7 separate regions of the Homo sapiens genome follow, and regions 2, 3, 4, 5, 6 and 7 are each linked to region 1. The links are contacts of gene promoters, found by promoter capture Hi-C in blood cells and fetal thymus (Javierre and others, 2016). All regions are on one chromosome and are shown on one strand. Each heading gives the region's core, a stretch centred on a gene start or on the middle of the fragment in contact. The rest is flanking DNA. Distances are from core to core; before and after follow the strand shown. Region 1 holds the start of HOXD4 (homeobox D4). Region 2 has its middle 25 kb from the start of NRAL. Region 3 has its middle 82 kb from the start of NRAL. Region 4 has its middle 32 kb from the start of NRAL. Region 5 overlaps LINC01116 (long intergenic non-protein coding RNA 1116). Region 6 has its middle 25 kb from the start of MIR1246. Region 7 has its middle 6.3 kb from the start of MIR1246.

Region 1 (4,265 bases), core at 155-2,654:
GGTCCCCACTTCTATAAGGTCGTCAGGTCCGTGTGGTGGTCTTTGGCCATCGGCTGTAAATGCTGGCTGGGGGCGACTGAGGAGGAGCAAGATGAGGAGGAAGATGAGGACGATGACCTGCCTTTAGTGTTGGGCAGCTTATGATCTTTTTTCCACTTCATCCTCCGGTTCTGGAACCAGATCTTGATCTGGCGCTCCGACAGACACAGGGTGTGAGCGATTTCAATCCGACGGCGCCTTGTCAGATACCTGTTAAAATGAAATTCTTTTTCCAGTTCTAGGACTTGCTGCCGGGTGTAGGCCGTTCGGGACCGCTTGGGTTCCCCACCGGTGTAGTTGGGGTTCACTGCGAGACAAAACAGACAGGACAGGCAGGTCAGCGCCCGGCCACTAGTTAGGCCCCTCGCCTCCGCCGCTCACTTCCTGGCGCGCCCCGAGGCCCGCGGCCCTCCCCGCGCGCTCCCAAGCTCGCTTGCTTCCTCCCTCCCGCCCTCTCCCCGGCGCACACGCTCACTCCCACCCACCTCCTCAAACACACCCACATACCCCAGGCTTGCGGGATCCCCAAATGTGCTCCTTCTTCTGGGCCCACCACCAGGTCCGGAACCCTCAAGCATTTTGGAAATCCCCCGCTCCTCCACAGCCTTCCCCCTGCTCTGAAAATGGAGTCCTCCCCCACCCCCCCATCCCCACCCCCTTTTGCGCCCACAGCCGAGCAGCCAGCCACATGGTCCTGACCTGCTCCCTCAGCTATAAAAATTTATGGGGAGAGTAATTGCGGCGCCCATGGAAGCTCCACACGCCCCCACCTACTCGCACCCCCTTCCAGAGGACCCAGGCTAACGGGCTGGGATGTGGACAGAAAGGTTACTGGACCCTAGCCTTACCCGAATTCACGTGCACCTTCTTCATCCAGGGGTAGACCACGGCCGGCTGCTTGAGTGCCGTCCCGGAGGGCGGCTGCTTGGGGTCGGACTGACTGTAGGCCCGGGCGCCAGGCAGGGGCGCCGGCGGAGGCGCCGGGGGAGCTGGGCAAGGCTCTCCTGGAGCGGCGTAGTGACCGCCGGGGCCGCCTGGCTCTTGTCCGTGACCCCGCGCAGGCAGCGCCGAGCCAGGCCCGGGGCCGCTGCCTCCGAAAGGCTGCTCACCGAAGTCGGGCCGTGGGTAGAGCCCCGGGGGCTGGAAGTCTGCGCCCTGCGCGCCGCCGCCGTAGTAGTCGGCGCCCTGCTCGCCTAGGTAGCCGCCCTGCAAATACTCCTCGCACGGAGGGAACTTGGGGTCCACATACTTGGAGTTCACCATATACGAACTCATGACCATTAATTTCAGAAGGTAGAAAATACTAATTTTTCTCGTGTTGTCTTTTTTTCTCCTTCCATAGGGCCCTCCTACTTGCTGTCAACTGAATAAAGTTGGGCAGCCATGTGACCAGGCCAGCCAATGGCGAGGGAGCAAGTTTATCACCGGGTTGGTGAGCATCTCATAATTTTCACAAATTTAACTAAATAACATACGTGTAATCAAGTAGCTTGCTATGGCACATTTGAGAGCCCCTGCCAGATATTAATGTAGTTCCAGTCCCCAGCACCCCATTCCCCTCAGGTAATCCCAGCTTTTGTCTGCCACTGATTTTGCCAACCTTCCGTGGCCCTTCCACTCACCCCCAGCTGAATGCAACCCCCGCCCCCCGACACCAAGTAGGCACAGCTCAAGGGAGAATGAATCCTCCTATTGGGGTACAGAGCAATGAAAGGTGGGTGGGTGAACTCGCCTCTGAGTTGGGCAGAGTGCCCCAGGCGAGGAGGGTTCCTGCCTGCCCGCCCTGCCTGCAGCCGGCGGGAGCAGGGATTCTGCCATACAAAGGCCGCCGTCCTGGCTTTGTCTTCATCAGGGTCACCCAAAAGTTACCAGAATCTGGCCAGCTTGAATCAAATTAGGCAATGAGTAACCGCCATGCTTTCTACCAGTGCCCAGGCCCGGGGGTTCCCAGCCAAAGCTGGGCCCTGCCAAAATAGCAGGGGGCCCTCGCTGCCCTTGCCCATGTAGCTGGGGGTGGGCTGGGATGGTGGCAAGGGCACCTCCACCTTGTCAAAATGCACCCTAGAGCTCCCCACTGGGCTTCTTTGAAGCTTGCTTTCTTCCCACAGGCCCCAAATACAAGCAAGCCCCCATTTGGGTACCTTTGCACCTCATGTTCCTGGAGGGCAGAGCTGGGACTGGGCAAGCTGGCCTTGTACCTCACTCCCTAGTACCCCAAAACCTAGCCCTTTGGCCCTGCATCCATGCAACCAATTAGGCTTGCATTCTCTCTTTCTCTCTCTCTCTCTCTTTCTCTCTTTCTGTCTTTCTTTCTTTTCAGCACCCAGAGGATACTCTGTTTAAAGGTGAGGAGCTTCTGGAGAGGAAAAGCTGCTCTATGTCACCAGGCGCAGCTGATCCTCCTGGAGTCCAAGGTAATAAAACAGAACGAGGCGGCTGACCAGCGCCGGCTGCTTCTAGTCTCCATGTCGCACTTTGGTCTCTGGCTATTCCGAAGAAACGTGAAGTTTTTGCATCGACCATATATTCCCCTAGAATCGAATCTGTGACTATACGGATACCACACAAATTCGGTTCTACAGGGTATATATAGACAACGTTACAACCTCTGGGTCCCACCCAGAGTGAGGTACCTAGGTCGCTGCCGGCCCCAATCTCTTCCTCTGAGCCACCACCGTTCGACGCAGCCACCCGCACTTTCTGAGACAGTTCAGGTAGCCTAATGGGCTTGGCGACAATTTGAAGCAATGAGTTCCCTCATTCTTCTGCCAGGGTCAGGGTTACCAAGCAGGCGAACAACCAGAATATTCTTCTTAAGAAAGAAAAAAAGAAAGAAAGAAAGAAAAATAATCCATCCCAAGGATGGCGGCTTTATTAACCACCCTCCCCCACCAGGATCCAAATAACCCTCCTCCTTACCAAGTGGTATTTTCCAGAAAGGAACAAATGCCCTCAGCGGCAGAAGAAAAAGAAGCGAGAGGGGAATATCCTGTGTCTACTCCTTTTCCTACTGCCCGACCAAGCCAGGTTGTCTGCCAAAGCTACTTCTCCAAGAAGTCGCGCATTTACCTTCATGGGCCCTGATCCGGGCTGGCCTCTCCGTTCCGCTGCTGCTGCAGACCCCGAGGCAGGCGCTGCTCACAGGCACCGAGCCGCCTTGGGCTGAGGCCGGCGCGCTAATGGTGAAGGGCAGGGCGAGGGGTCATTCGAAATCATTTACAAACATATCACAAACTTTCATTATTTTTGCTTTGCCGACAGCAGCACACAAGAGTACAAAAGTTCACAAATTTCACCCGCCCCAGCGCCTCGGCACTGTGCAGTGCTTGTCCCTCAGTTCAGGGCATGGAGAGCGCAGACTCACTCAGAGCCTCGATGGATTTCAGGGGCACAGGGATGCCCTGGCTCGAGTGGGGCTTTTGGGTGCCTAACTGTAGGCTGAAGGTGTTAGATTTTTTTTTAACTGTCTTGATTGCCCTTCCTACCTCCCACATAATTCAAAATTTAGTTTCAAGCCTGGGCCTGGGCCTGGTGGGGTGGGGCAGGGATACTCCCCCTCCAAGCCTGGCACTTTGCTCATCCCCCCATCCTTTGCTTCCACCACTTTACCTGTTTCGTAGGGATTTTGGGGGCGCCAGTTCTAACAAGGGCTATGAGGCTGCAGAATCTGTTTATCCCAGGAGAGTCCCCCCAATTTCCCTGAATGCCAAAGACTCCCAAGTATCCACCTTCCTGGGACACTGGGCCTAGGCTCTATCCAGACAAATTGGGGGAGCCTGCTGAGCCGGCTGGAGACCGGGGTGAATATACACATTTTCATATTTGTTAGACGCTGTGACCTGCATTTCACCTTATTGCTCGACTTGTTCAGACAGGTCAAAGCCAACGAGTTATTGATGAACAAAAGCGTTAAATATTCACCTCCCGCTCAACTGCCCATACTAATGCTTTTGATCTCTAGGGCTTTTTGTGCTGTGTTCAGCTACAGGGCGCTGAATGTGGGTTTGCTAGCGAGAAGCTTCTGCAGAGATAAGCACCCAGAGCCAGTGCAGGGGAGGAGAGAAGCAAGACCAGAGGTCCCCAGGACACCAGATTTTCCAGACTGGAGCCCAGAGCCCCTTTCACTTGAGCCAGCCTGGTGTATAGGGGTAGTTGCTCTTCTAGGGGTGTGCACAGTCTACAAAGGGTCGACTAGACTGCCCAGCCCAGCGGGGCCAAAAAACCTG
Region 2 (4,198 bases), core at 1,167-3,666, 380 kb before region 1:
TAATATCCGCTGATATTGTTCATTATTTTTCTAATGCCAACCCTAGGTACATCAGTTCTGGGCAGATCCCTGAGGAAAACAACAACTTTTGTTGTAGGTACTTGAGAGCAGTCATTATCACTGTTGCCAATTAATTCATCAATCGGTGTTTACAGAGCTGCCACTGAGAAAGGGGAGCAGCACTGTGCCCTGCCGAGCAATAGAAGGGTGGAGGAGTCCCTGAGACAAAGGCTCCACTCTAGGGGAGCTGAGTAGCGGAGAAGCCATAAACAGAAGCTAAGTGATGTCCTTCCTGCTCTGGGCTGCTGGACACCAGGCAAGTCACTTACCCCTCCGAGCCTTAAACCTGGAAACAGGACAGCAGCCAGACCCTACTCAAGGAACAACCAACAAAACCTATGTGAACATGCTTTGAAAAACATTAAGCTTGGCCGGGCATGGTGGCTCACGCCTGTAATCCCAACACTTTGGGAGGCCGAGGCGGGTGGATCATCTGAGGTCAGGAGTTTGACACCAGCCTGGCCAACATGGTGAAACCCATCTCTACTAAAAGTACAAAATTAGCCAGCTGTGGTGGTGCAATGCATGTAATCTCAGCTGCTTGGGAGGCTGAAACAGGAGAATCGCTTGAACCCGGGAGGTGGAGGTTGCAGTGCGCCAAGATTGCGCCATTGCACTCCAGCCTGGGCAACAAGAGCTAAACTCCATCTCAAAACAAAACAAAACAAGAAAAGAAAAGAAAAACATTAAGCTTGACATAGATGAAATCATTTATCCTAGCCTATAACAGAAAATACAGATCACGGAGAGCTAAGACTAAACCAGGTGACTTTGGTTTGCCTGTACCCATTTTCTTTCTTATAAATTCATGCCCTTCTCTTCCCGCATTTTTAGAACATTCTTAGTAATTTCTCCACATAAGCAACCCTGATTTTTTTTTCAGCTTTGAAATTGTCTGCAGGGGCTTCTTTAAGCTGCACTTGCTTTGTCCTCTACAAAACCACATTCTGTTAAAAGAACCATCAAGCACGGACCATGGCTAGGGTCAGAGAGAGCTAGAAGTCCTCTCTAGCTCTACCCATCTGCTCCTTCCCCTACTCTCTTTTTTTCCTGATCCCTTCTGCTTCCTCTGGACAGGAAACACATAGCCTCAGCCATATGATGCCTCTCCATCCTACAGGAAGCTGGAGCACCAAGCTGAGATCACAAGTGCTGGGGCCTTCATCGCAGGCACCTAATTGTTTAAGTAGCTTTTGATCACTTTGCAAAAATATCCCTCTCTCCTTCTTTGTAGCTGCATTGAATGAACATATCCCCTTATGTTTTAAAGAGTCCTTTCTTTGCAGGAAATGAAGGGGAGAGGAATATTAGTTATCTGTATTGCTAGGTGTATTGTGAAACTCTGGATGGCATAATACTTGGCAAACAGGACTGCAAGTCTCTGAAGTTAATCAAGTTGTTGAGGTTTTCAGGATCCAATTATTGGCAGAATTTCCCCACACTCCTAATGCCAATTTAGATGTCTACATGTCTAGGGAACAGTAAATATAAAACATGAAACTGCAGCGTTAAGAAAGAATTGTGGCTGCAGTCCTGTCTAACCAGCGTGCTCCCTATTCTCAAAACTTCCCTTTGACTAGATGGGGAACAATAAATATATATGCCCTCCTCAGTCCTGGAAAGAGCCACCTTGCTGTTTTCCAAAAGGAGATCATGACCTATAACAGAAAATATAGGTCATGTAGAGGTAAGACTACACAAGGTTATTTGGGTTTGCTTGTACCCATTTTTTTCTTATAAATTCATGCTCCTTTCTTCCAACATTTTTAGAACATTCTTAGTGGTTTCTCCACATAAGCAATCCTTACTTACACTTGCATGCCATATCATTGATAACAACCAAATTTATAGTCTGTAGATCAGAGACACAGGCTGATTAGGAACAGATTCATTTGGATTTCGATCTGCACTTTGCATGATGGAAAAGCTAAAGCCTATTGCAGCACTCTGTTTAGATATAACTCTGATTCCATGAACTGTCTCTAGTTGTTACAATGAGGCCTATAAAAGGGCAATCCTAAATAAGCCTGAAAATAATGTCTTGGCACAAGGTGCAGTATCAGATTTTACCAGCGATACCTATAAAGTTCTTTACCAGAATATATAAAGGTAGTGTGCTAGCCAAGACTCCTTTTCATTTCACTAAAAGAATAATGGCCAAGTTAGGATGTTAAGACTTATCATCAAATGTTTTCTGTTGCTTCCCCCAAGGAAAAGTAACAGTGTGATTATCTCATCTTGCTAGAATTACTCTGTTGTGTGAATAGGGGAAGAAAGTTTGGGAAGGGGGAAATTAAAGCAGGAAAAATAATGGAAGGCTATGAACCCTAATACTAATTAAATTATGCCATTAGAAAATGTAATTCTTCCTAAAATCCAGACTATGTAATGTTGGTAGGTGAACAAAACTCCCTGGATGCCATGGAATGAGGAGGAAATGGCTAAAGCCCACAAGACCCAAAGAAAAGGGTCTGTGGAATCTGAAGGCACTGGTGTTTTTCCTGTCATCCTTATGAGTCTAAATTGTGGAGGATATGAACAAACAAAAAGCCCAATGAGACTATTTATGAGGAGAAGCAATAAAATCCACCAGATAATGTATGACAGAGAAGGGGAAATGAACTTTCCCAAGTAGAGTATAATGTGCTCTTCATGGGTGCAATGCACAAGATTAACGATGCCACCCTCAGACTCCTCAGTGGCATTTCAGGACCTTACAATGCAGCTTCCTTTCATTTCATTGGGATATAAATAATTGATAACTTGAAGGGACCTGAGAAACCCACTGCAACTGAACACAGATATTTTTTATGACATCAATTACAGGGCTAGTGATTTGATGAGAAAAGGAAAATATCTCAAACTACACTTTAATGATCTCTACCAAGAACCCCTAGTGTTCCAAATGAAATGTGGGTCTCTGGGCCTGGAGTTCTTTTTCTCTCTCTCTCCATTTTTCCTCCTCAGAGGGAATATAAGTTATAGCTGAATAGAAGAGATGGTTAATTATTTTCATGTCTGTACTTTGCAGTAGTGGGTTTTAGGCCTCCACATTCTAATACAGAAGGAAAGGCTTGAGAGAGTTGAGGCTCTGGGAGTTGCGGGGGCGGAGTTCTCTTGTGTGTGCCACATCAGGGCCGCCTGTTACATGACAGAGGTGTTGTGGAGTTAGGCCTGGCAACTAGAGCCATGATCATAGTTGAGCTTGTCATTTATGGCATTACAACACCAGGACATGTTAAAATGATATGGGAAGCAGTACCATTAAGGCTGTTGAAAGGAAGTCAGAGTTCAAGTATTTGTGCATGAGGCACTTTATGTGGTGACGACTTCTGAATTTATAGTTGTCAGGGCAGGAGTAGATGTTGATTTGGTCTGAGAACAGGTCTGTTCACGCTTGTTTCTGGTTGATCGTGAAGTCCAGTTCATTTTACTTTTTTCATAGCAAAATTCCTGCAAGGCTGCTACTGCTTTATGGAAAAGGTTCAGAACCATACCTGGAAGGTTATCCAAAGACTCCAAAGAGGTAAGGCAGTGAGAGCTGTGCTAAATCCTCATTGTGCATTGGTCCTAAGGGACATGTGCTATGAGGTCATATTGGGATCAGGGCAGAGAGGGCATGGGTATGTGATAGAATGAAGGAGGTGGGAGGTAAAGGAGATATTTCAACCCAATTCCAAGAACAATAAAATCTTATTAGTCTATGACCCATTACATACATTTGAATCCACCACAAGTCAAAAAAGATGCCTTGAAATATCATTACAGGGTACAGGAAGTCTCTCTGAATTAGCTTTAATAGGGGTTTGGGTGTGTTTCTCCACTGCCAATATCGTCATTATTGGATTGCATTTCTTTCTTTATAGAGGCCTAAACAACCAAGGGGGGAACTTGATCTGTTGGTTTAGAACTCCAGAGATCTGCCAGACTGCTTACTCTTGTGTTGAAAAAGATACTGGCTAGTTGTTAGGCCATAATATTGAAGTCCTCATACTTTAAAGCAATGTAATTCTAAGCTTCCATGTCTTGTAAATAGCTGTTGACTGACTTGTCTCATAAGTAGGATGGAAAGGAACAGATAGTGGTTCAATGAAAAGAATTCATTTTTTCCTTCCAGTTTTTTTAGGCAAATACATCC
Region 3 (3,697 bases), core at 798-3,297, 270 kb before region 1:
TCTTCCTTCATCTATGCAATACTGAAAACAATCTTGTTGTGCCTTAAGATTTCTGGAACGGTCACTCTAAATAAAATTATTACCCACTTCATAGTCCCAGAGAATTTCATGCATAGAAACTAGGACGTGTCACAAGAGTGCCCTGAAGGTTCCTGCTCCCGCCTTCCTGTGAATGCACAGGAAATGGTTGGTTGCCTGCCTGTGAGTCCTTCCCCTTTTGTCCTTCATTTGAGAGTACCCCAGTTTACTCTGGCGTCCACTCCCTCCTCAGCCATATGCTTCAGAGGGTGAACAATGGTGTGCTACATCCTCGCCAGTGAAACACAAGAATCTTCTTATGGGGCTGTGGAAAAGATTTTCATCACTAGTAAGGAGTTACAGGAGACAAAACAACCATCTCTTTACCCCTTGCTTATCTGAGCTGGCTGTGGCTGTGACTGCACACAGTGGCTGAGAAAGCGGCAGCCATCTTGCACCCAACGCAAAAGACAAGCTTGCTCGCTGAAGATGGCTTGGCAGAAAGGCGTGAGAACTTGGGCCCATAATGATGGCATCAGCTGTAAACTTACCCTCCCGGAGTCATCTCATGTCTAGACTTCTTGATATGTATAATACAATAATAAAGCCCTTTATGAGTATAGTGATGTGGTAGGCTGGATAAAGTCCCCCCAAAGATGACCGTGGCCTAATTGCTGGCTGCTGTGAATATGTTTTGTTACAGGACAAAGAGGAATTAAGTTGCAGATAGAATCAAGGTTGCAACTCAACTGATGACTTTTAAAAAGGAAGATGATCCTGGATTGTTCTGGATGGGTGTGCTGTAATTACAAGGGCATTTAAACATGGGAAAGGGAACCTGGAGAGAGGACCTGAGATACGGTAGTATGAGGAGCACGTGGCCGCACACTGTTGAAGGAAGGGGCCATGACTGAAGGAATGCAGGCAACCTCTCCTAACCGGGAAAAGCAAGGATACTGGGGGAGGCTATGCATGTGTGAGGACAGGGTCATATGGGAAATTTCTGTACCTTTTGCCCAATTTTGCTATGAATCTAAAACTGCTTTAAAAGATAAAGTCTATTTAAAAATAAATGTTTTAGACAACAGAAAATGTGTTCTTCTCTAGGGCATCAAGAAGGACCCCAGCCTTGGTGCCACTTTGATTTTAGCCCAGTGAAACCTGTGTTCGACTTCTAGCCTACAGAATCATAAGAAAGGAAATTTGTGTTGTTTTAAACCACAAACTTTATGGTCATTTATTACGGCAGCCACTAAGCACGGATATGGATGACCAAATATTTTATCATCCAAATCCAGGCACTTTTGAGAGTGAAAGGAATGCTAGTAATAATTTTGGCAGAAAAAGTAAGGTAAATTACAGGGAAAAAGTACAGGGAACACTCCATTTGTTGTTTACATCACTTTGAATTGAGTTTTCTGACACTTGTAGACAAAAATATCCTAAATAATTATAGTGAACATGCCATCACATTTCATATATTGGCATAAATTCATTTTTAAAATGTTTTAATTTTAAAACAATGATTCTAACAAACAGAACCAACCCCACAGGAATTAGTAGCTACCTCAACCTGGGCACCAGCTACACATATAGAGGCCCTTCCCACAATTTGGAGAACCCAATCCTGAAGTTGGCTTAGAATATGCAAAACAAACAAAAAAGGAAAAGAAATAAACAGTCAGTTCCCATGATCAAAAAAAGTTTACAACTAAGTTGGGAAGATAAATGTCACAGAAATTAAAGGCCTAATAAACTGATTTATAGAAGTAGCTGTTTGTTGGCAGCACCTGACAGTGTGCCTGTGTGAAGATGTTTTATTCCCCAAGAGACAAGGGAAAAGGAAAACCTGGTATTTTCACTCCTAGTCTAAGCATCCTTTCCTCTAAATGCTGTGAAAGTTCTTTCCCCCAAAGCAAGTTATAAGAAATAGAAAGCAAAGCTTGTTTTGAAAAGCAAGGTTAGAAAGGATTTGACATTGTAAGAGAATAACAGTCAACCATTAAATACAGAAAAAAATATATAATTGCATAAGAATCTCACTTAAAGAAACTCTACCTTTAATGCAGTTCTCCCTTTATACAAGAAAATAAGGATCAATGCTGGAATAAGCTTAGGGAATTCGCTTCGGGTATTTAAGTGGAGGACAGCAGCAGAAGAGGCAAGAGTTAAAACCATAAGAATCCTGAAGGGATTAACTCGGATTCTCTATCTCTGAGGGAATGCAGGAAGAAAGAGGTAAATTTAGGGGCTCCAGCTTGGGGAAAGAATTCCATTTCATGGGATCACTGGAGCAATGCAGACCCCCTGCACACAGAACCATCAACCTGGGGCACAATCAGAGGACTCTGTGGCTCTGGCCATCCCAGGCATTCGTGGGGGAGGGACTCCATTTACCAGAACAATTTCCTGCCCTGAGAGAAACAAGGAAAGATGAAGGGCAGACTCTGTTAATTTAGGATGTATATAGGAAGAGATTTCACTGCCTATAAAGTCACAAATACCATTATAAACTACAAGATGACTTTTTCTTTTAATTGGTTTGTTCAGGTGTTTTAGAAAATGTTTGGAGGAAACAGAAATGTCCCTTTAAGAGAGAAGGCAGGTCTGCAAAACCCTATAAACAGGTTTGGGGGAAAAAAAAACTACTGAAACCGCTGAGCAGAGGTAAAGAATACTAAGGTATGTCAAGCAAGATAATTCTCATACCAAAGCAAATATGTCTACAGAGAGCAAAGTACCTGGAATTCAAATCCTGATGTGTCTTACCTCTGTGAGAAGGGAAGCCAGGGAGCATTAAGGATATAAATATTGATTGGTGTGGAAGTTGAAGACCTGGTGTAACCAGGCCATGTAAATGAGCCAAAGAGATCCATCCTTTCCAGCATAATTTCCACCTGCCCCACCGCAAAAGAAACCACAATTCCCATCCAGTTAATGACTTCTTCACTTCTGTAAAGAAAAATGGCCCTACTCCATTCTGAATCTTTTTGAACTCTTCGTAACTTCCAGCCATTGATCAATAGCTATTATCTTGCTCCTGCTTCTAAGGTACCCTCCCAGTTGAGTCAGTCTTATTCATTCATTCATTCACTTGTTCATTTAGTAAACACATATCAATATCCCCGGAGTGCCAGACACTAAGGGAAGATGAATAAGACCCAGTCTGATTTACTTCCCAATGGTGTACACTTTCCTTGAGCAACTGAGCCAGAAAGGACAGTTGCCCAAATCCCTATTTGTTTGGATTCACCTTTTCCATGTTTTCCCAGCTGCCATTCTAGGTAAAGCCTCCCAGTGTCATTCCAGGACTTTAATAGCAACCTCATGATAGGCTGCCTTTCCCTGTCTGCTCTTCAGACAGGCACAGTGGAAATCTGGCTCAAACCCTAGTTTCCAGCATCCCCTTCTCCAGAGACCCAGCTACGACTTTCTTTTGCTCAGTAGAATAAAAGGCCACCTAAATTTGCTCCTACTATAATAAAAGATATCTTTCCTGCCCACTTCTACTGATGAGGTTAATTCTCAGGATCTCAGCTTAAAACTCAAGAGATACAAAAAGTTGCGTTTGGCCAGCCCCACTTAACTCATGATCCCTCCTGTTACCCTTGGTGTACTCCAAACATATGCATACATGTGTTTTTATCTTCTCTTGTTCATGTCTTGCTATTTAATTGCT
Region 4 (4,273 bases), core at 805-3,304, 320 kb before region 1:
CCTATGAGAAAATATTACGTTTTAGAAACACAAGACTGAAATTAATGGAATTCTCATTTTAATAATAAATAAAAGACTTCACAAAATAATGTTGTATCAACTAGAAAACAACTGTTTGCTATGACAGTTCATAGCAAAACTGTGATAACTGTCTTCACAGGATTTTTCATAATGAGAAATATTCCTTTTTTAGAATATTCTTTGTGGCAATCCATGACATCTTTATGGTAAAGGCCATTTATCAGGGAATAATGCAGCAGATTGCCCCACAAGGATTCTCAGCTCAGGGTCATTTGTTCCTGAAAAACATGGTCCCTGTGTCCATAGAAGAAAGAAACGGATTGACCTATTGAAGCTGGAAGGTAACATTTAGAATATCTAACGAAAACAAATCTTTTCACAGAAGGTGTTCAACCAGCCATGCTGATGATTTTGCTTCTCCCAAACTGCTCCTTGTGTATATTTTGTTTGCAAACATGTTATTTGGCTCCAAGATGTAGTCCTGGTGTTCTCATGACTTGAGGGTACTAAGCATGGGGTTCTGAGCCTGGCTCCCTTCTACCCTTCAACTGTGCTGCCACTTCCAAGCAGTCTAAGACAGTGGGTTACATCTGGTTGAGAGGCAAACCCAGGAAATGGAAATGAGACACTGTGGACAATAAAAGAGGAAAGAGGGGAAAGCCCAGAGAAGGGTGTGTTGTCCAGTCAATGCTGTGAGTGATGGAGCTCAAGCCTCCAGGAGCTTCTGAGACACTGTATAGAATGTGCCTCAGAGGCCAGGCAGGCACAGTGGCGCAGTGGTTCATGCCTGTAATCCCAGCACATTGGGAGGCCAAGGTGGGTGGGTCAGCTGAGATCAGGAGTTTGAAACCAACCTGGCCAACATGGTGAAACCCTCTCTACTAAAGATACAAAAATTAGCTGGGTGTGATGGTGCATGCCTGTAATCCCAGCTATTCGGGAGGCTGAGGCAGGAGAATCACTTGAACCCAGGAGGCAGAGGTTGCAGTGAGCTGAGATTACGCCACTGCATTCCAGCCTAGGCATCTTAGCGAGACCATCTCAAAAAAAGAATGTGCCTCAGAATTACCTGCCTAGGGACACCGAAGAGGAAGCATTTCTCCGCCAGCTCTTATTTCCACTGATCAAGGGCTGCCTGTGAAACTTTACCTTCCTGCACTTCCAGGTTGCGTATGTGAATGGGTTCCACAGGCATCTCTCTCAGCCTTGATGTCAGAGGGGCCTTGGGACAGGAAGCAAGAGGTCCATGGTGTAGCTGAGGTGAGGTGCTGTCAAATTTGGCCACATAAAGCTAATTACAATAGCAGCAGGTAGAGTAAGAGGTGGGCCAAGGGTGGGAGACAATACAGGCGAAATGCTAAACACAGAGATAAAACCACTTAGGTGAAGACTAACAAGTGAATTGTGACAAAGTACCCAGCAGTCATATCAATTCTAAATGCTGTTGGGGATGCCAAGAAGAATAAGTATTTTTATGGTACTTGCATATGGTGACACATGGGGACCCTGGCAAGGGACCATTTCCATACTCTTTCTCAAATGCTGGTTTCATCATGTTTGTATCCTTCTGCCTGTTCAGAGGATGGGTGAACTCTTGGAAGCTTATTCTCTTAGTCTGTTTGGGTTTCTGTAACAAAATACACTAAACTGGGTGACTTATAAACAACAGAAATTTATTTCTCACTGTCCTGGAGCCTGGGAAGTCCAAGATCACAGTGCCAGCATGGCCAGATGCTGGTGAGGGCCCGCTTTCTTATAGATGGATATCTTCTTACTGTAACCTCACATGGCAGAAGGGGCAAATCAGCTCCCTTTGGCCTCTTGTAAGAGCACTAACCTCATCCATGAGGGTTCTTCCCTCATGAGCTAATCACCTCCCAAAAACCCTGCCTCCTAATACCATCACCGTGGGGTTAATATTTCAACATATGAATTTTGGGAGGATGCAAACATTCAGACCATAACACTTTTTTAAAAAACACACTCAGCCAGGTTTCACAGGGCCCCAGAAGCCTCCAGGTCAATCTCTGACTCCATAGTTCAGATGCTAGTAGAGAGTATGACTGAGAGTAGGCACTCTACAAACAGTAAGTCTTTGTATTTTTACTCCATAACTGCTGACCCTTCACTCCTTTTGCCTATACTGCTAGTTTTTTCTTTTTGTTTGTTTAAACCCCACGATACTCTAAAAAGTTCCTAAGGTTGCAGTGTCTATATTCCAAAGTTAAATCCCACTGCTGTCTTTGTTTATGTATGTCCCTAGGCTGGGAATGCTTCTCTAGGGCTTTTCCTTGAAGAACCAGAAGTTCAAGCCCAGGCCAGGCATGGTGATTCATGCCTGTAATCTCAGTATTTTGGGAGGCCAAGGGAGGAGGACTGTTTGAGCCCAGGAGTTGGAGACCAATCTGGAAAACAGAGAGACACCACATCTCTACAAAAATAATTTAAAAATCAGCCAAGCTTGGTGGTACATGCCTGTGGTCCCAGCTACTCGGGAGGCTGAAGTGGGAGGATACTTAAGCCCAGGAGTTTGAGGCTATAGTGAGTTGTGATCATGCCATGGCACTCCAGCCTGAGTGACAAAGTGAGACCCTTTCTCAAAAAAAAAAAAGAAGTTCAAGCCCAGGCCTTATTAGTGTGTATATTTCACCACGAAACAAATATTTATTGAATATCTCTTTATGTGCCAAGCACTGGTGATATGGCTGTGTCCCCACTCAAATCTCACCATGAATTGTGATAATCTCCATGTGTCAAGGGTGGGGCCAGGTGGAGATAATTGAATCAGGCCAGCGGTTTCCCCCATACCGTTCTTGTGGTAGTGAATAAGTCTCACAAGATCTGATGGGTCTAAAAATGGGAGTTCCCCTGCACAAGTCCTCTTGCCAGCCACCATGTAAGACATCCCTTTGCTCTTCCTTCTCTCCCACCATGATTGTGAGGCCTCCCAGCCATATGGAACCACGAGTCCATTAAACCTCTCTCCTTTATAAATTACCCAGTCTCAGGTAATTTCTTCCTTCAAAGAGCTCACAGCCCAGTGTGGAGAAGGCAAACAAGTAAAGACACAATTATATCACAAAGGAATGGAGACAAGTGCAAGGAGCTGAAAAAATAGTCCAGCCAGGTTTGGAGGAAGAAAAGAGAGGGCTTACTGAGTTGTGCATTCAAGGAAGTAGCTAGGGGCTCTGGGAACACAGAGTAGTATGTGCAAAGCCCTAGGGACAGCTAAGAAATATGAAGGAGACAGATACGAAGGACCTTGTGTGATATGCTGAGCACTCGGCATTTTATCTTGAAGGACACAGAACCATGCAACAGACATCCAGAATCTGCCCACTTCTTGCCATCCGCTCTAAGCCATCATCACCTCTTGCCTGGATCATGGCAGTGGTCTCCTGATGTTCTCCCTGCTTCTACTCTTGCCCCTCTACAATCCCTTCCCAACACATTGCCAGGAATGATTTTGTTACCTACAACTCAGATCATATCACTACTCTGCTCAAAACCTCACAATGCTGCAACCCACTCAGAGTAAAAACCAAACCTCTCAATAGCAAGAGGCCTCCCATGACATACACCCAATGCCATGCTGTCAACCCATGCCCCTGAGCTCCCACCAAGGTACCAAGATTCCACCCTCCTTGCTGCACCTCCAGCATGGCAGTCATGCTCCTTCCTACGGTTTCCTCTCCTAGAATGTTCTTCCGCATGTCCCGATGGCTTGTCGCCCTTGCTTCATTCAAGTCTCTGCTCAGACAAATATCTGCTTTATCAGTGAAGCCTCCTCCAGCCAGTCTATACACAAAATAAGAAATTCCCTTCCCTTGCTGCTCGTTTGCTTTAGGTCCCCTACCCTGCTTCATTTTCCTGCCTAACATTTATCACTCTCTGACATGCACATTTTTGTCCAGATTTTAGAAATATCTATATTCTTAACTTATTAACATTGTTTATAGTGGGTCTCCCCATGCTAGAATGTGAGCTCCATGAAGGTAAGAACTTTGTCTTGTTCTCCACTGTGTCCCCATTGCCCACGTCAAATTAGCATCTCAGTAAGGATTTGTTAGATGATAAATGAATGACTTAAACGATTCTAAACAGAAGGGGAATAGAATCAGATGGCAGCATTGTTGAGAACAGATTAAAGAAGAGCTAAACCAAGGAGGCCAAGTAGCAGGTCACTTAGTTAAACCAATCCCAATCCGGGCCTGAGCTAATGATGGGGCAGAGGGGAGGGTCGGCGGGATGG
Region 5 (4,219 bases), core at 266-2,765, 470 kb before region 1:
CATAGAACTCTATCACATGACCTCTTGCTTTTTTAAAAATGTCATACTCATTAGTGTACTAAGGAGCTAATTTACAAGGCATACTTACTCTGGGAATATGGCCTATCCCAGGCTAAGGACAAAAGCTCACCTTGGATGATCTGCACTGGAACACAAAATAAGTAATCATATAGGCAGAGTTTTGTGACTTGTGTAGAATTGTCCTAGAGAGATGGTGATGGAAGTGAAAGGGGGAATCACTCCAGTCACCAGAGATCATGTCCGTGTGCATGTATGTGTGTTTGTGTGTGTACACATGTGTGTATGACTTGAAGTGTCATCTCATCTGTCCTTACCGTAGTCTGTATGGAACATCCTCTGATACTATTCGCTCTCCCTTTGCAGATTTCTGATTAAAAATGTGATATGAGGAAGGTGTTCCATGGATAGGAGCAAGGTATTCTGGACCCCAGAAAGGGATATCCTCCACTATGGATAGTGAAAATTTTCTTTTACTTATTAGTTTCTTGTGAATTAACCAGATACAGTATGACCATCTCTGAATACCCTGAAAAATACCTGGGTCCAAATAGTGGCTTTGCTACTCACTAGATGTATACTCTCAGGCTGGGCTCCATTTCTTCATTTGTGTATTGGGGATACTACGATCTTGTGGGATTTCCATAAGTATTAAACAAAATATGATTAGCGCCTTTCACATCATAAGCATTCCACAAATCTATTTCATAGTTTTGTTGTTTCTATTATGATTCCTTATTGCAAAGATCAACAGACATTAGCACAATTTATAATGTGTTAGAGCCCTTCAAACATGTTCCTCAACGGCCATTGTTAACAACATGTGCATTGCTGTCTTTGATTCACCATTGCTAAGGCAAAATGAGTGATGATATATGTGAAAAATGAAAGAAAAGGTCTATAGATAGGCAAGATGCCTTTTTCCTTTGACTTTCAGCTCCTGGAAGACAGGGGCCTTGTATCTCTATACCCGGAGTGCCTAGTAATGGGCAGGTATTTCTGCTGAATGAATGGATATGCTAATTATCAACTAGAAGGTTCTGAAAAAGAGAGTTGTCGTTGGAGGTGCTGTGTAGATCCAATAATAATAGAAACCAGCTCCTGGAAGGGAATGCCAGCTTGGCAGAGCTTGCGAGTGAGAAGCAAGTCTTTAATAAGCTATTGGTGTTCATAGCTAGAGAGAAAGGGGAATTTAGATTGGGAGACGGGATGGCTTCAAGGATTCCTGATCAGGTTTTTATTCTGACGAAAGCTTGCTGGAAAATGTCTCAGCTCTCTGATATTGTGAATGCCTGTCTGCAAGAGGCGCAGGAAAATCAGGCGAAATCGGTTAGGGTGTTCTGCTCAGTAAGGCTGAATGTGATGGATGGCTCGGTGTGCTGTTTATCTACTGCAGGTTGGTATTTCACCTCTGTTTTCATTAGACTGATGGTAAGGTAATAATTCTTTCCTCTGGCTGAAAAATCTGTCTTCAGCCATTTGTTGATCTTCTTGAACGGGAAGTTCAGGTGCACAGAAGTCACCCTAAAGGAGATTTTGAATGAAAACTTAAATAATGCTGGTCGGCATCCACGGAGCTCTCCGGCAGCACAGGCCTCCGCTAGACTGGCTGTGATTATTAGGTGTGCAGCGTCACATTTGCCCAAGGACAGCAAGCCTACGGAATGATACAGGGTAACCACCGCTGTAGGAAACAAAGCGTGAACATCACATTTGATTTCTTTGGAAACACTCAAGCTTATATTGTAAATTAAATTAAAGCAATGCAGTCTTTATGAGGTGTTTCCATGTAGCACTGTGTTACGGTGGAAAATGCCCCAGCCCGGGCCTCGGAAGTCTCCACCATGATACTCCCTCTGGGCAAATCTCTTAATGTCTCTGAGCCTCCATTTCTTCATCTCTCAAGAGATAATAATAATGTATGCACTGGTTTTTAATAGAAAGCTCTTATCAAGATGATATAGCTTTGAGTTTTTTCCCAAGGCGAGGAGGAACAAACAGAACAATGACAGAGGCTAGTGGCTTTAGTAAGCTGCAGCTCTATAGCTCCTCCCTCTTTCCAACCTCTCTGATGGAGGGCACAGAAAGGAAGATGACAGAGTTGGCTCATTAAGCATTGATCAAGGAAGGACTCTCCCCACACCCGACAGAACAGATCCATCCAAGCAGTTTTCTGAGTTTGTGAGCTGATGGGCAAAGTGATAGAGCTTCCACTCACAGGGCTCGTCAGTTGCTCCATCGGGAAGGGGACTGCTGAAAGGTTTCATCCACCCGAGACAGAGTGGCCAGTAGAAAAGACAGAATCTTGTAACTGCTGGTTCTAACTCGTGGGACTTCCATTAAGGATGAGGGTCCCTTTCTTCCTATAAACCTGTGAGGACAGCCCATCCATTACTTCTATACTGTGGGTTACCTGCATAAGAAACGGTTCTCATTTAATGTAACGAGGTGCCCATATGTCCTGATTTGTTCCTGACAGTCCTATTTATGCTTTTTGTCCCAGAATAAATATTACAGCACTACCATTAACTCTCAGAGTCTCTGGGTTTGGTCAGTAAATTATATGACACAAACGCATTAATTTTATAATAGGCACCTTCTCAATTCCCAGCAAATGCTTCATATGTATCACCACTAACCTCTCTACCATCGGTTTGGTTGATTTGTGATATACAAATACAAATACATTTTTACTTTATATTTTTCACATAGCAATTTCTAGTCATCAATATCATTTTCACAGCACTCCTGAGTTGAGGGAGAGTAATTACAAAGAATTGTGATTAATAAAATGATGAAGGATTTTCTTTCAAATACATTTATGAGAATAAACTAACATAACTTTTGTATAGTGTCAATTAAATGCAAACTTACTGGCCAAGCACAGTGGCTCAAGCCTGTAACCCCAACACTTTGGGAGGCCAAGGTGAGAAGATCACTTGAGACTAGGAGTTGAAGACCAACCTGGGCAACATGATGAAACACTATCTCTACAAAAACTAAAAATACAAAAAATTAGCTGGGCATGGTGGCACACACCTGTAGTCCCAGCTACCTGGGAGGCTGAGGTGGGAGGATCAACTGAGCCCTGGAGGTCAAGGCTGCAGTGAGCCGTGAGCATGCCACTGCACTCCAGCCTGGATGACAGAGTGAGACCCTGTCTCAAAAAAAAAAAAAAAAGTAAACTACTGTAATTTATAATTCTGAAATAACAATGTCAACTAAAGCAGTATTATTACTATTTTTAGAGACAGAGGCTTGCTCTGTCAACCAGGCTGGAGTGCAGTGGCATGATCATAGCTCACTGCAGCCTGAGACTCCTGGGCTCAAGCCATCCTTCTGCCTCAGCCTCCAGAGTAACTGGGACTACAGGCATGCATCACTATACCCAGCTAATTCTTTTAACTTTTGTTTGTTTGTTTGTTTTTTGTAGAGAGGGACTCTCTCTATGTTGCACAGGCTGGTCTTGAACTTCTGGTCTTAAGTGATCCTTCCACCTTGGCCTCCCAAATTGCTGGGATTATAGGCAAAAGTCACCATGCCCAGCCAATAATTATTTTTATTTATTTGTTCTTCATTTAAGCAATCATTCAACAAATGATTGTTTGTGAAATGTTTCCAGGTACTGTGCTACATAAGAGAAATTTAGACAGAGACTTTTACCATAGGAATTTATAGGAAATGGGTTTAAGAGACAAGTAGATTATAATGAGACAAGATTATAATATGGCTAGAGTAGCACAGAACAGGAGCACCTAACCCAGCCAGCTTCATGCCACCAGACAGCCAGGAATGGAGGGATGTGGTAGTGAGGCATGGCTTCCAAGTGGCGGTGATGTGGAGCTGTCTTGAAGGACATGTAGGAATTAGTCAAGGGAGAAATATAAGAAAAATACTTTATAGTGTCTTTTCCAATATTAGAAAATAAAATAATTAAGACAGATGTTAAAGCCAGGAAACATTCTCTTCCTTGAATATTCTCTTCCTGTGTGATACAGTTTGGATGTTTGTCCCCTCCAAATCTCATGTTGATATTGATTGCCAGTGTTGGGGGTGACTGGACCATGGAGGCGGATCCCTCATGAATGGTTTTGCATCATCCCCTTGATGATAAGTGAGTTCCCACCCAGTTAATTCATGAGACATCTGGTTGTTTAAAAGTCTAGGACCTCCCCGTCTCTCTTTCTTGCTCTAGCTCTCA
Region 6 (4,064 bases), core at 1,410-3,909, 420 kb before region 1:
TGAAGAGAAAGCACATACATGAAAAGATCATTATAATTTCAAGTAGCACTGCAACAGCTGCATGAAGGAGAAAGTCAAAGTCACGCAGGCCCGAGTTGGAAAAGGAAGGATTTATAGAAGGTCTATACTTCTAACTAGTCCTGGAAGTGAGTAAGACTAAGACAAGAGGAGGAATAGAAGGGCATATGAGGCAGGACACATGGTGTGACAAGACAAGGGACCATTTCAGGAAAGCAAAGGATCGGTGTAGGGAAATTAGGAGATTAAATGGGAGAGGATATTTCATGTCAGATGGTAGACATTGGTCCTTGTTGCCAAGCTGAGGAGTTTGAACTTTATCTTATAGGAAATGGGGAATCCATTGAAAGTTGTAGGAGACAGTTACAAACATATACCTTGCAAATACTATTTGCTACACTCTTTGCTGTGAAATCTGTGTCACTCATTGATAATGCCAGAGGCTGTTATCAGTCAGGAGATTACTAGACAGTAGAATTATCTGGACAATAGTTTCCATCTTCCTGGCAAATAGGTTATACAGGACAGACTCAAAAGCCTTCTTATCTATGAATTATTGTTTCCTGCTAACAATCGTATTTGATTTGAAGGAAAATTTTTCCATTACTTTTCCAGAGACAGAAATTAAGATTACAGTCACTCTTTTATCCTTCATTTTTGACCTCAAGGGCAGAGGTCTATAATAATCCTACACCTCTTTGTATAGCATATCATCACATAACTCCACAAAAAATCCTTCTCATATTTCATTATTTTTTTCCTCCTCACTCAGATCCTCATCCCCATTCTTCTCACCCTCATAACAGTCAATTTAATATTTTGATGTGTGCATATATTTTCATATATCTACTGTTTTTGTACTCAACAAATTTTTATATTTGTTTTTAAAATTTAGACAAATGGAATTTTAAATATCATTCTCTCTTTATCACTCATAATTTTGCTTTAAAAATTTACCCATATTGCCATATTTACATAAAAAATATTGCCTCCACCAGCTGCACGGTATTCCAGACTGCGACAACCCAGTGTACTGATCCATTCCCCTGGTAGAAGGCATCAAGTTTGATTCCCCATTATCACAAATAATGCTAAAAAGACATTGGCATATATGATCCCTTTGTGAAAATTTCTCTGGGATATGTGTTCAGAAGTGGGATTGCAGTAGTAGGGTGACTATATAATTTATTTTCCCAAGAACATCCTGGAAAATGAAAACGGCACTATTAATAATTATGTCAGAACCTCAGACTTTCCCTGCTACCCTGAGTAAGAAAGGGCCTCTTGTCACCTTAGTCTTATGACATACTCATACTTAATTTCATCAAGATTGTCAGGTTGCTTTCTGAAATAATCATACTCATTTCCTCTTCCCTCAATAACGAAAGAGTTTTCACAACCCCTCATCCTTGCAAACACTTGGCATTATTCAGTTTTCTAAACTCTGATGTTCTCATGTGTCTAGAGTAGCCAATTGTTCTGCTTATCAATGAATTTGAACACCCCATCCAACACCAGTTCATCATTTGAGCTTCATACTGTTTGCATATATTTCTATGGTGTTTCCTGTTTATTTCTGGTCAATTTGCAGGAGCTTTTTATAGATTCTAGATATTAATTGTGTCAGGTTTTTTTTTTTTGTCAAAGTCGGTTTTAAGCATTGCAAACATCTTCTCCTAGTCTATCATCTGTCCACTAATGTGATGAAGCTTATGGTTTACTGTTGCCAGGGTCATCATTTTCTCTTCAAATAAATAAATAATATAAATTTAAATAATAGATTAACAATTCTCTTTAAATCTATAGGAAGATATTATTATCTTCTTCCCCAGTCTCTGGCTGACTGTCTAGCTCTTTGCACATTCTTTTTTAAACAATGATAAAGTCTATAATGACTTTAGGCAAGTCACTGCCATCCCTCATGACAGTGGTTCTTAAACTGAACGTCACCTGAACCACATGGGGTGGGGCCAGACTCCGCATCTTTAACCAGCTACCCAGGGAATGCTGATGCTGAAATCCAACAGCCCCATGTAAAGACACATGGCCTAGCATACAAAACACTGGGGCCAGCAACATGGGATAATAGTGCTGAAAGAGAGCTTGGAGATTCCCTAGTTCAACCCCCGCACACACATTCCAAGTCTTGAGAGGACAAGCACCTTGACCAAGAGGCCAAAGCTTCAGGCCTCCTGCCTGATGCCAGGCCGGGGCTCTTGTCATCACAACAGGCAGGACGTGAAATACCTCTCTTACTCCAGTGCTTCCTTATTGACATATCCTAATCAGGAAGAATCATTCCATTTCATATACTGTATAGTGAGCCCTGTTTTCGTTTTACTGTTGAATTTTTATCCAAGGCTTCGGGTGGCAAAAAGATAAAATGCTTTCATCTTAGGATGTCATTATTATCAGCACGATCTAATTTAGGAGAGCAACATGCTTACTTCTTGCATTTTCAACATTTTTAAAGTAAAGCAAAAGATCCTCCTCCCTTGTCATGAATAGCATCTCTGAAAATAGTCCACCAAACCTCCAGAGTCCAGTGCAAACAAAACTCGGCTCCATGGCATCCCCCTGTTTCGTATTCACATGATGCAAAACACATGGGCCAAATTTATGTCACCGCAATTTGCCTGGCAGCGAGCATTTAAATCACCAAGGTTTGCAGCTCCACGTTTTAGGATGTTGTTTGCAATCCTGTAGCCAAGAGCTCTGAAGGAACAAGCTCACATGAAGGGTCGTTAGCCAGCCGGATGTGATGGGGCTGTTTTAGCAGAGAACTAATTAGTATGCTGCAAGGTATCTGCATATCTCTCAAATAGACATTGTTTGTGTCTTTCCTCAGTGACAGGGGGAGATTGTTCAGTAGAACACCTTACCTTTTAATATGCGGGGTTTGTTAGAAGAACAGCTCAATTCATATTTCCCCTGGTTTGATGGTAAGTGAACAGCAGTGGCAATATTAATCTGTAGTAACCTGTCAGTGAACTCTACAGCTAATATGATGTAGTTATGATTTTACCATCAATCAGGACTGAACAGGCTCTGGGCAATCCTTACAGCACAGCCTCAAAAAATCTAATTGTGCAAAAGCTTCATTGGTTTCCAACATTTCTTTTTATCTGTCACAGGCTTTAGGCCTAATACACAACCTTTTATTATTGGCCTTATTGCATTAGCTTGTCGGACAAAGAAGAAAAGGCTAAAGCAGAGAGTTCCCCTGCATTCCATCATTTGTTTGCATGCAGGATTTTATTTGACAGTCCTGTATTGTTTTAGATGTAGATAAAAATTATTCAGACATATGGCATCATATGAACTTTTGAACTGCCAATTGCCAATGTGTCCTAAAGGACTGGAGGCATTTACAAATTCTGCTCTACCTACAAAGACAGAAATGCTATATGGACGAGCCAATAAGGTCTCCTGGGGGAACTGTATTTTAGAATCAACATAATCTTGCATGTTCTCCTTGACCAGTTTTTATGCAGGGGAGGAGTAAAATTGAGAGATGGAACATTAGCAACTGAGATGATTTTTAGCCAAAATGAAGGTTGAATATTTGAGAAATTAAAATGGAAAAACAGTTCACTTTCTCTGAGAACCCGCATGCACAGCATGAAGTAGTATGGAGCCACATGGTGTCCCTTCGTCCCTTCATGTGCAGAATATTTTTCTGGGTGTCTGAGATGCAGTGAGATTCAGTTCCAATGAGAACATGTGCATAAAACACAAATCCACATCAAAGTAGCTCCAGCCTTGAGACTACTGGGTTGGAAGGAACTGTAAGACTTAAAACATATAAAAGCATTTAGGAAGATGAACTATTAACTTTATCTATTTAGGCATTTTAATCTTTTGCATCTTAAATGCAATTGGGCTTTTGGAACTGGGAAATTGCTAATCAGCATGTTGGGTAAATGTTTCTATTTTAAAATGTGCACATTTAGAAATAACAGCTGGCCATAAAGTACATATTTATGTTTGTGATTTAATGTATCACAAACTTTATACTTTATTTCATTCAGCTTCACAAAGAGACC
Region 7 (4,181 bases), core at 593-3,092, 440 kb before region 1:
GTGTCTATGTATAAGAGAGAAAATGCAAATTCTAAGAGCAGCTCTAATGTGAGAAAATGAGGGCATGAATAAGTCCTTTGCTCCTTGACCCAAATAGCATCTTTGAATAACTGTCAAAGGACTTGAGTAGGGTCAGACAATGTTTTCAGGTAGTCATGAAAAGAAATGACACAGAAAGCTCTTATTTACATCTCCTTTGGCTAGCCATGGAGATCCCTAGATTGAAAATAGGGTGACCTTTAGAGGCTCATCACCATCTTGGGTGTGAGTAGCCTGGAAGGAAGATGTACTGTGAGCCTGATCTATAAAAGGGACCAAGAATCCCTTGAGCTGACTCTGGATGCAACCTCAGATGGACTCATAACCTGCAAAGGAGGCTTAAACTTGCCTAGACCTCTTGACAATTGCTTTAAGTGAATTTGCAGGTGATTGACAGCAGCTTGATTGAACACCCTCTCAGGGTTCCTTCTCCTGGTATAATTCAAATGTCCCTGGTTCTAGGTCTCCTTGATTCTTGGGCCCACATGGATAGGAAATTTTATTGTAAAAGCTGATGGCTTAATTCCTCCTAAAGAAAGTGCTACCATAGCTTTGCTTAGAAAAATACCACTTTGGTTTAGGAAAATCCACAACTCTTACTTTTCCTGGTTCTAGCACATCGTTGATCCCATCTCATATTTTCATAAGCTGTTTATATTGGATTGCAGCCACTGTGTATTAACTTATCGCTCTTTCTCTCTCCAGGCCAGTGAATTAGCTCATGCGTTCAGCTGCATTTAACAAAGATCCAAACACAGTGGTTTAACTAACATTTTCTTAACTGCCATGAAGTTCAGAAGTAATATAATATGCACAGAGTTGGTGCCATGACTTTTAAACCACCAAGGACCAGGCTCCTTCCAGCTTCTTACTTTGCCATCTTAATATGTGGCTTTCATTTCCATGGTTTCACAAAAGAAAGAGAAAATGACAAGAATGTAGAAAAAATGGGGCTTTTATGAGAAAAGTAAAAATTTTCCAGAAAACCTCAGCAAAATTCTAATTGGTCAAAACTAGGTTACTCTTAACTGCAAAGGAGACTGGAAAATACAATGTTATCTGGAACAAAATGAGGAGTCTGTGGGCAGGAGAAAGGAAAAGGATGGAGACTATAATAATATAGACAATAAGGTGTGTCTGCCACACCCACATACCTAGTGTCTACGAAGTATAGACTGATCTCAGTGTTTCTAACGTACACACACACGTGTTCACACACACACACACTAAAAATATACTCTGCAATATAATATTTTTTCTGAAGACTGGGATGATTATAAACTTTCTAGATGCTCCTGTACAAACAGTAATTAAAATCCCTTAGACACTTTCTTATTTGCAAAATGACAAGAACACTTAAAACTTGAGGGCGAAAACCTGGTTCTAGAACCAATTCTGCCACCAACCATCTGAATGATCTTGAAAAAGTTACTTTCTCTCTCTGGGCTTCGGCTTCCTGAGTGGTCCCACTGCTGACACTCTTAGTACCTCGACACATCCCTTCACCTCCCAGCAGATACATATCTCTCCTCTGCTCAGAACACTTCCATGGCTTGGGTTGAAATTCAGTCCTCAGAATCTGGGTTGTGTCCAAGTTTCCTATGTCATCTTGTACCACTGTCCCCTTTGCTTATTTTGCTTTGCCACACTGGTCCTCACCTTCCTTAGCCATGCCAGGCTCACTGTTGGCCTGAGTCCTTGCTGTTCTCTCTGCCTTAAATGCTCTGCCCCAAGGTCTTCAACGACTAGCTCCTTCTTACTATTCAAGTCTCAGTTCAAATGTCACCTCCTGACAGTGATATCTAAAGTACAATTTCAACCCAAATCCTCTCTATCATAGAACCTGTATATTCCCTTCAGAGAATATACCACAATTTAATTATCTTGATAATACATTTGTGCATTTGTTTGCAGTTGGCCTCCCACTAAGAATGTCAGTTCCTTGAGAACAGGAACCTTCTCTCTTATTCAGCATGGGTAATCCTGGCACAGTTTCTGTCAAGTTTCTGTCAATATACAACAAAGGTTTGTTGAATGAATTAATGAGGAAAGAGGGCCTTCAATGTCATCTCACAGGTCCCTTCCAACTCTCAAGTCCTGCAGTTCCCTCTCACAGGGCTACTATGAAGATGAGAGGAAACAACGCATGCCACTGTACCTTCTAAATTGGTAATCAGCACACGAAATGTGAAGGCTGTTACAAACAATAGTGTGATTTGGGGTAATTTGTAAGCTGTTAAAAAGGAACTTGGCTCTTGGAACATTGTTTACAAAACAAAGCCTGAATTGATAGAAATTAGATGCAAAGTAAATGAGCCATTTTGAAAGAGTGTTTTCTGAAGGGGTGACATTCTGGAAAACAATATCAACTGAGCAATTTCTCCTTCAATCAGCTCTGTAGAAAGTGATACTCTTCTCCTATCCTATAATATTTGCAGAAGTTCTATTTGTAAGTCATTTCTAAAGGGCAGCAATTTGTTTTGTATTAGAGTTTCTGTGAACTGATGATTCCAGTCAGTTCGATCATATATCTATGGAGCATCTACTTGATAGGAAATTTCATTAATGTGAGTTAATTATTATGGAAGATATACCTGTTTGACAACTTTCATTGGCCCAATTGGAGTCCTGAACACTGTATTGAAACCCAGAGTTTGCCTTGATGTCCTTTAGTTGCATGCCAGACTTGGCTGTAGCCAGTCGATACTGGTTTTAAATCATAGATTAAGTCTGCATTCCCAAGGGATAATTTGAAGCAGTCACCTCACATCACTTGGACATTCATGTCACCCTCAGCTTAAAGAAGTTTTGTTGGGAATACCAGGTCTCATGTCACTCTGCTGTCCCTAAATAGTTAGTGGCTCCTCACTGTCCCCTGTAGTAAGTCCGATCTTCCTGCATTCAAGACCCCTGCAACGTGGCCCACCCTAATTCCTAAGCACATAATCTCCCTAAAAAGGCAAACCTGTATCCAGGCCAAACTGAGCTACAAGGAATTTTCCAAACATTATTGGTACTTTCTTACCTGCTTGGCTTTGCCATGCTGTCCCCCAACCCTTGAGATGGAGGACAATCCCCACCATCCCCACCTGTAGAAAAATTTACCCCTTCTTAAGTCCTGGAATCCCCTACCTGGTAGCCATCTCTCCATCCTCTTTGTATTTAATCATAATAAGTACATTCATGCTTACTGAGACCATGCACCAGACACTGTTCTAAGTACTTTACATGGAACCCTCAAATGAACTTATGAAAAAGCACCACTAACATCCCACTTTCCAGATGGTGCTAAAGGATAAAGGAGTTACAAAGCGGAGACTACAGTAGTACATGCCAGAGTTGAGACTCAAGACCAGATAGGTTATCACCAGAGCCAGTTCATACCAGCATTAGAGAGTCTATTATTAGGATCTCTTTCTAACTCTCCATTCAGTGATGTCAAGTTGGTAGCTTGAAATAAGCTATAGTGAGAGTATTTACACCATGGAAATAGGCATGAACTACACACCAGCGTACCCTCCTCCCACAATTCTCTTTCAGATCAACAGTTGTTATTGTTAAATATTTAGCAATGTAACAGTGTCTGGGGCCCACCTTCTCAACCATTGTGTTACATTGCCACATCTATTTGTGTGTTTAAATATTAGTCTCACCACATTGAGAGTCCCTCAAGGTAAGGGGCCATGTCATACCCATTTATATCACACAGCCTTCCATGTACACAATAAATATATAATTCATAGTTATTGGAATGATTTATAATTCATTCTCAAAGTGGCTAATATCAATATTCTATTGTGAGATGGAAAAAGTGGCAGCTACTCTTCTAGTTCAATCGAAACATTTCTAGCTCCTTTAAATATTATCTACTTGGAGATGACCTTGTCAGCATGAACAAGCCTTGAGAAGAGAGTCCTGGAATCTGAGCTCAGAAGGAATCTTAAATACTATCCAGCGCAACCCTATGTTTGACCAAAACTAAGTTCCAGCATCCAGTGGTTGTTCCTCTTGAGAGCAGGAATTGACTGATTACCATCTAGGGTTGCAGTGGAGTAAAACCTTTTCAAAGTAGAATCTCCACTCATCAGTGCTGATGCCTGCCCCACCACCACCACTGCATCTCCTCCCTTATTGAGGATCAT

Evidence for each region. Contacts are between HindIII fragments. The CHiCAGO score rates a contact against its expected background, and 5 or more counts as called.
Region 2: a contact is called between a fragment that was not itself captured here and the fragment with the promoter of HOXD4 in region 1, in 1 of 17 cell types (endothelial precursors). The highest score is 6.0, in endothelial precursors.
Region 3: a contact is called between a fragment that was not itself captured here and the fragment with the promoter of HOXD4 in region 1, in 1 of 17 cell types (endothelial precursors). The highest score is 6.3, in endothelial precursors.
Region 4: a fragment that was not itself captured here is called in contact with the fragment with the promoter of HOXD4 in region 1 in 1 of 17 cell types (endothelial precursors); the score reaches 5.3 in endothelial precursors.
Region 5: a fragment that was not itself captured here is called in contact with the fragment with the promoter of HOXD4 in region 1 in 1 of 17 cell types (fetal thymus); the score reaches 6.7 in fetal thymus.
Region 6: a contact is called between a fragment that was not itself captured here and the fragment with the promoter of HOXD4 in region 1, in 1 of 17 cell types (fetal thymus). The highest score is 6.8, in fetal thymus.
Region 7: a contact is called between a fragment that was not itself captured here and the fragment with the promoter of HOXD4 in region 1, in 1 of 17 cell types (fetal thymus). The highest score is 7.1, in fetal thymus.

Annotation. Positions count from the first base shown.
Region 1 is chr2:176,148,689-176,152,953 of GRCh38, reverse strand. It overlaps HOXD4 (homeobox D4), which reads right to left and starts at 1,404. Exons shown (of 2, transcript NM_014621.3): 1 at 888-1,404; 2 at 1-346. The coding sequence starts at 1,320. The coding sequence ends at 12. MIR10B (microRNA 10b) reads right to left here and starts at 2,651; the gene lies at 2,542-2,651. It also overlaps a transcript of HOXD3 not described here. RefSeq lists enhancers at 952-1,685, 4,214-4,265. The HindIII fragment of the contact is 3,668 bases long and covers 1-2,131 here.
Region 2 is chr2:176,530,978-176,535,175 of GRCh38, reverse strand. No RefSeq gene overlaps it. Among named protein-coding and RNA genes, the nearest start is that of NRAL, 25 kb to the right of the region's middle. The HindIII fragment of the contact is 3,325 bases long and covers 754-4,078 here.
Region 3 is chr2:176,423,625-176,427,321 of GRCh38, reverse strand. No RefSeq gene overlaps it. Among named protein-coding and RNA genes, the nearest start is that of NRAL, 82 kb to the left of the region's middle. The HindIII fragment of the contact is 170 bases long and covers 1,963-2,132 here.
Region 4 is chr2:176,473,944-176,478,216 of GRCh38, reverse strand. No RefSeq gene overlaps it. Among named protein-coding and RNA genes, the nearest start is that of NRAL, 32 kb to the left of the region's middle. The HindIII fragment of the contact is 859 bases long and covers 1,625-2,483 here.
Region 5 is chr2:176,616,620-176,620,838 of GRCh38, reverse strand. All of the region lies in intron 4 of LINC01116 (long intergenic non-protein coding RNA 1116), which reads left to right. Among named protein-coding and RNA genes, the nearest start is that of MIR1246, 18 kb to the right of the region's middle. The HindIII fragment of the contact is 485 bases long and covers 1,273-1,757 here.
Region 6 is chr2:176,573,734-176,577,797 of GRCh38, reverse strand. No RefSeq gene overlaps it. Among named protein-coding and RNA genes, the nearest start is that of MIR1246, 25 kb to the left of the region's middle. The HindIII fragment of the contact is 915 bases long and covers 2,202-3,116 here.
Region 7 is chr2:176,592,708-176,596,888 of GRCh38, reverse strand. No RefSeq gene overlaps it. Among named protein-coding and RNA genes, the nearest start is that of MIR1246, 6.3 kb to the left of the region's middle. The HindIII fragment of the contact is 5,480 bases long and covers 1-4,181 here.